Linked DNA regions of Homo sapiens: region 1 is linked to region 2. The links are contacts of gene promoters, found by promoter capture Hi-C in blood cells and fetal thymus (Javierre and others, 2016). All regions are on one chromosome and are shown on one strand. Each heading gives the region's core, a stretch centred on a gene start or on the middle of the fragment in contact. The rest is flanking DNA. Distances are from core to core; before and after follow the strand shown. Region 1 holds the start of ABRAXAS1 (abraxas 1, BRCA1 A complex subunit). Region 2 holds the start of NKX6-1 (NK6 homeobox 1).

What was found. The method cuts DNA at HindIII sites, captures the fragments that hold promoters and counts their contacts. A CHiCAGO score of 5 or more calls a contact.
Region 1: a fragment that was not itself captured here is called in contact with the fragment with the promoter of NKX6-1 in region 2 in 1 of 17 cell types (monocytes); the score reaches 9.1 in monocytes.

Annotation. Positions count from the first base shown.
Region 1 is chr4:83,483,445-83,486,360 of GRCh38, forward strand. ABRAXAS1 (abraxas 1, BRCA1 A complex subunit) reads right to left here and starts at 1,656. Exons shown (of 9, transcript NM_139076.3): 1 at 1,542-1,656. The coding sequence starts at 1,628. RefSeq lists a silencer at 1,382-1,871. The HindIII fragment of the contact is 4,128 bases long and covers 1-2,916 here.
Region 2 is chr4:84,497,838-84,500,657 of GRCh38, forward strand. NKX6-1 (NK6 homeobox 1) reads right to left here and starts at 1,455. Exons shown (of 3, transcript NM_006168.3): 1 at 1-1,455. The coding sequence starts at 391. The HindIII fragment of the contact is 5,978 bases long and covers 1-2,532 here.

The DNA.
Region 1 (2,916 bases), core at 412-2,911, 1.0 Mb before region 2:
TAATTTTTAAAATTTTTTTGTAGACATGAGGTCTCCTTATGTTGCCCACGCTGGTCTTGAACTCCTGGGCTCAAATGATCCTCCTGCCTCCGCGTCCCAAAGTGCTGTGATTACAGAAATATTTTATATTCTTTATAATTAATAATGCTTTTTTCCCCTAAAAGTAAAAAAGGATTATTTCCATAATGTGAGTCTTTACTGGAATCACGCGGGGGGATATCCAGAATCTAGTGTTCTTGATTTTGATACTCAAAAGACGAACTCAGGGAAGGGAAGCAGGGGGGCAATGCAAGTGCAACTAGCCAGAAAAACCACCCTTTAAAGACTTCAGGAAAAAGATCTGAGAAACAGGGGCCTCCCTAGCACTCAGGTACTTCCCAAGGGCTAATCGTTTAAGCTACCGAGGATTTACGGTCCCACTCTATCTACACTACAGGTATTCCAAAATAATTTCCACAGCTACACATATATTTTAAATGGTCATATATTTGTTCTTTATTAGGTATTACTTTGTAAGGTTATCTGAAATTGTATACATAAAACATACCAATTCCAACCTTTATTAGGATTGTGCCAAAGAGCAATTTTGTAATGTTTAGATTTTGTAGAGACCGGGTCTCACTACGTTGTCCCCGATGGTCTCGAACTCGTGGGCTCAGGTGATTCACCCGCCTCGGCTTCCCAAAGGGCTGGAATTACAGGCGTGAGCCACCGCGCCCGACCTATATTAAGGCAATTTTGAGTAAAATAGACGTTATATCTTAAAATGAACTTAGCAGAAATTACTAGGCATTGTTCAGCAGGGTATTCTCCGAACTGTACCACACAGCAGGGAAGTGTATTTCAGATGCTTAGACTTTCTTTCTGCAAGTTACTGAAAGTGCTACAGGACATTAACTACTTCCGAGCTCAACGTTTTACAGCGTTTCTTTAATTTCATAGAACTTTTAGAAAATAGGCAACGTACTTTTAAAAACTGTTTTAACAAATTTAATAACGCAAATAAAAAGATATCTGATATACCAGATTAAGCTGTTCCATCCACTAAGATTTGCCACTGGACGCAACATCTATTTTTATTCCCTTACCATCCTACCATCGCAACAAACACGCACAGACGCTGCTCTGCATGAAAAAGTCCGCCTGGTTTTGCAAACGCCTGTCGGGCGTCGCGAGAAACGGAAAGTTTACCGCAGGCTCCGCAGAGCAGCGGAAAGACGCTCCGTGAACTTTCCATCTTTTCACGCCCAAGTTTCCACAGCTACAGGGGCGCCGAGGAAAGATGGGAGCGTGTGGGACACTTGGGTCGGAAAAGGGAAATAACGGAGGATAGCAGAGGGAGGGCTAATGCTGGAGAAGACTTCGTGGGCACGAGGCACCTCAGGGACCGCTGAGGGGGAGAGAAGGCAGAGCCGCGACCGCAGGGAGGAGGCGCGGCGGCGTCGGGGGAGCGGGCGGGGACCGGAGCAACAGCGGGGAGGCAGGCCGCGCGCAGGGCTCTTCCCAGGCGACGCCGGACCCCGCCCCGTCCCTCGGCTCACCGTGTCCGAGTCCGTGTTGAGGTGCTGGAAAGCGAGTGCGCCGAGCACAAAGCCCGAGAGCACCGCCGACGTACTCTCCCCCTCCATGCTACCGCCGCCTCAGGCTACACAAGAGGACGAGGGCGGGGCGCGCGGAGGCAAGACCCTGTGGTGGCAGCGAGGCGGGGCCCAGCGAGGAGGCGGGGCCTGCGCCGGCGCACGGGCTGCTGCGCGCTCCGCAGAGGGGCGGGGCGAGGGGGCTGAGGGCGGGCGCGGGCGGGTCCCCAGCCGCGCGCTCGGCTCCTCCTTCGCTTCTGCTGCCGGCCTCTCCCGGAAGGCCGCTGCATGTCGGTACCACTGCAGAGGGCTGCGAATTGCTTTTGGTGGCCTGCGCCTGCTGAGCGACCTGTCACAAACATGCAAAGCTATCAAAATGAACACGGTTGACAGGGTCATTTTAAGACAAGCAATGATTACAAGAATAAAAGAGTTGAGTAGCAACATTACGATGCCACAGTGGATATGCCACGGTTTTGGTTTTCAAGCTGCATTTTAGCACCCTTCACTCACTGAAACTTACAGAATACTAATAACCATTTGGGGATTGTCTTTGCTAGAACTCTCTAGCCATGTTCTGTGTCTGTGTGTTTGTGTGTGTGCATGTGTGTGTTCCCTTGCTTTTAGAAAACTTCAGCCTAATTTAAACAATACATGGATATTTAATGTTCTGACAGTTTAATGATAGGCATAATCATAGTAAGCTGGTTCATTTAATGTAAATGGTAAGGTGAGTGGACCAGGGCTTGGCAAATGTATTTTACACACACACACACACACACACACACGTAAAGGTATGTTTCTTAAATGACTGAAAGTAAGCATAATAGCAGACTACTGAATTAGTGTGGCACATTTGTGGGTTTTGTTGTCAAGCAGTTGTCTGTGGCTGCGTAACACACAATACATATGTATATAATTAATGATTATATATTTATTCCCTAGAATTAAGTTTCTTGCCTTCATTTTGTAGGGGTGAAGGGAAAGCTCTGCCCTCTGAAGGTTCACTGGAGTGAACTAACAAAAGAAAAGATGAACAGAAGGAAAAGGGATACGAATTTATTTTATTTTTTATTTTTTTGAGACTGAGTCTCGCTTGGTCACCCAGGCCAGAGTGCAGTGGCACCATCTCAGCTCACTGCAGCCTCCACTTCCCGGGTTCAAGCGATTCTTCTGCCTCAGCCTCCTGAGTAGCTGGGATTACAGGCACGTGCCACCAAGCCCGGCTTATTTATTTATTTTTTTTGTATTTTTATTAGAGACAAGGTTTCACCATGTTGGCCAGGCTGGTTTCGAACTCCTGACCTCGGGTGATCTGCCCCCTTCGGCCTCCCAAAGT
Region 2 (2,820 bases), core at 205-2,704:
CGGACGAGGAAGAGGAGGAGGAGGAACCGGAGGGCGAGGCGGAGGGCAGGGCGGCCCCCGAGGCCACGGGCATGGAGGGCCGGCTCAGGATATCGTTGATGCCGTGTGGGGTGGCGGCCGAGAGCTGCTGCGGGGGGCTGCCGAGGGATGAGAGCCCCCCCGTGGCCGGGGGCTTCAGGCCGCCTGGGTTGTGGGTGCCCAGAGGCGGGGAGGGCGACGAGGAGGACGACGACGAGGACGAGGAGGAGGGGGGGCCGGCAGGCAGCGGGGGATACGCGGCAGGGTACAGCGGGGTCTTCATCTCGGCCATGCTGTGCAGGGCGGCCAGGGGAGGGCTGCTGAGCAGGAATGCGCTCTGCCGGGTGCCCTCCATTGCCCCCACCGCTAACATCCCACGGCCACGCCGGAGACCGTAGCCTTGCAGCGAGGGCGCTGGCTGGTGCCCCCCGCGGGGCTCAGAGGAGCCGGAAGCGCCGAGGGCGCGAGCGGAGAGGCACTCGGCGCGCCCGGAGGCGAGCTGCCAACTGAACCAAAAATGCCGCTGCCGGGAGTTGCTCGCCTAGCTGCGCAGCAGAGATGTCCAAACCCTCCACGCGGGAGGCGGCAGCTCGCCGAGAAAAGCAGGCGTCCCGGCGGGCTAGGCAGTCCTTTCGTTCCGCGAGTCCTAGATTCGATCCCTGGCTATTCTCTCTTCCTCACTTTTCCTAGCTGTTCAAAGTGCGCTACTTCTCATCTTCTGCCCCCGGGAAATAAGCAAAACAAAACCCAGGCTGGCTCCGGAGAGTTTGTAGCAAAGTTAGTTGCCGAATCTCCACTTTGAAGTTGGAGGGTGGGGGTGGCTTGCTTTCTTTGGGGAGGTTCAAAGGACGCCTTGTGCAGCCCGTGGCGCTCCTCTGATCTTACTGGGATGCTCTGCTCTTTCGGTCGCGCGGCTGATTCGCATTCGACGCTCACTGTGCCCGGGGAGAAAGCGCATCCAGCCCGCGGGAGATCTAGCCTCTGTGCGGGCTTCCTCCGCCCACGCTGCCCCGGGCTGCTGCGCCAGAAAGGGCAGTGCCACGGATCCCCGCGGCTCCCAGGTCCTCACCTCCACCCGCCTTGCCCTCTGGCCCACGGGGCACTGGAGTTGCAATATTGAAAAGAAAAAGGGGGAGGAAAAACACAGAAAAACAAAAGACTAAGTGTGAAAAGTCTGACGGCTGGGTTTCGGCGCCGCTCGTCAGTCCACTTCTGCAAACGGGCCCGGCGACCCCCGCCCCACCCCCGCTCCCTCTCTCCCTCTCACTCTCAGCCTTTGACTCTCCTCTCTGGCATTTTCTTCGCGGCTTCCCAGGCTTCGGTCTTCTAAGTCCTGTCCTCTGGCCAAACTGACCCTCTCCGCGGCTCCTCCGCTCTTTCTCTCCTTTCCTCTCTCCCTCCGGGCCTGACAGTTCAGATGAAGCTCTCAAAGGTAATAAAACATTTGCATCACTCCCTACCCCTCTTTAGCTGGGGGACGAAAGGGAGGGGGAAGTGGGGGACCAAAATGAGAACTTTGAGGGACGTCACTCCGAGGCTGCGGGGGCCGGCGAGCCGGGCGCAGGCCGGGGGCGTAACCACCGTGTCCAATAGCTCGCCGCCTCGATCCTTGCGTCGCCCCTGGGGCTCGCCCACTCGGGGGCGCCGCACCCTCTGATTGGCTGAGGCGGGCCAGGCGTAGGGCCGCGCCCGCCTAGTCCCCTCCCGCTCCCTACTTCTTTCTCCTGTGGGCGGGGCCAGGAGGGGCGGGAGCTGGTGAGTGGTGCGGTTCCGCGCTGGGGCCAGTGGCCGCCTCAATTAATTGTGCTAAATAAAATGAGAAAGGGGAGGGGGAAGCAGAGACGAAGAGGGTATTACTTTTTAAAGAGAGGAATAATGAAAACTCAGCCCTTTTATGGAAAAGCAGTTCATATTCTTCCCTTGCTTCCCCACTAGCCCGCTCGCGTCATCCTATCCCCTTCCCCCACCAGCTCTGGAGGGCGCCTCACCTCGAACCAAGTCTGGTCCCTTGTAAAATGGAGCTAATGGAGCAGGCAGCCGGCGCAGCCCTGGCCTGGCTCCTTCTTTTGAAGGGATTAATTAAAGGCCATCTGGGCTCTCCCAGAATTGTGTAAATTAATTTGTTGCTCCTTAAGCCTTATAGATGTCCTTAATCCCCTTGTAGGCCAAAGGATCGTCCTCTTCCATCTTTCCACCTCCTGCTTTCCTTTTCTGTTCTTTCTCCTCCACTTTATTTTTTTTTTCATTCCCGAGTTCCCCCCCGCCCGTCGCTTCCCACCGCGTTCATTATCATTTATGGGTTACTCAATTCGCTGAAAACTGAATCCGTTTAATAGGAATATTTATCTGTCAGATGATGTTTATACCTGAGAACAGTGAGGGAGTTTTTTCCCTTAACTTTTCTCCCTTTGATTATTGTTGTTATTTCCTTTGGGTTTACATGGGGGTAGAATCATCAAAATTCAGGCGGAAACTTTAGATACAGAAGCATCTAGGTACACCCTGGGAACTGTAAGCTTTTGAAAACCCTCTCCAAAACTCTGGCGCCTACTCCCAATTCTAGAGTTGCTACGGGAGATGGAGATGTACCAGCTCCTGGACAGTGGTGGTGGGATGTCTATCTAGAGTTTAGGAGTTGAAGGGTGGCTTCCTTTACTCTCTAAATCTCTTCCATCTCTGGCTGATCTTTACGTTCCCGACAGGGTTGAACTGCGGGCTGGAGAAGGAAAACCCTTTGACAATTTTGAGAATTCAGCATGTTAAAGTAACACACCATTGGAAGGTGGTCGCTACAGCAAATTT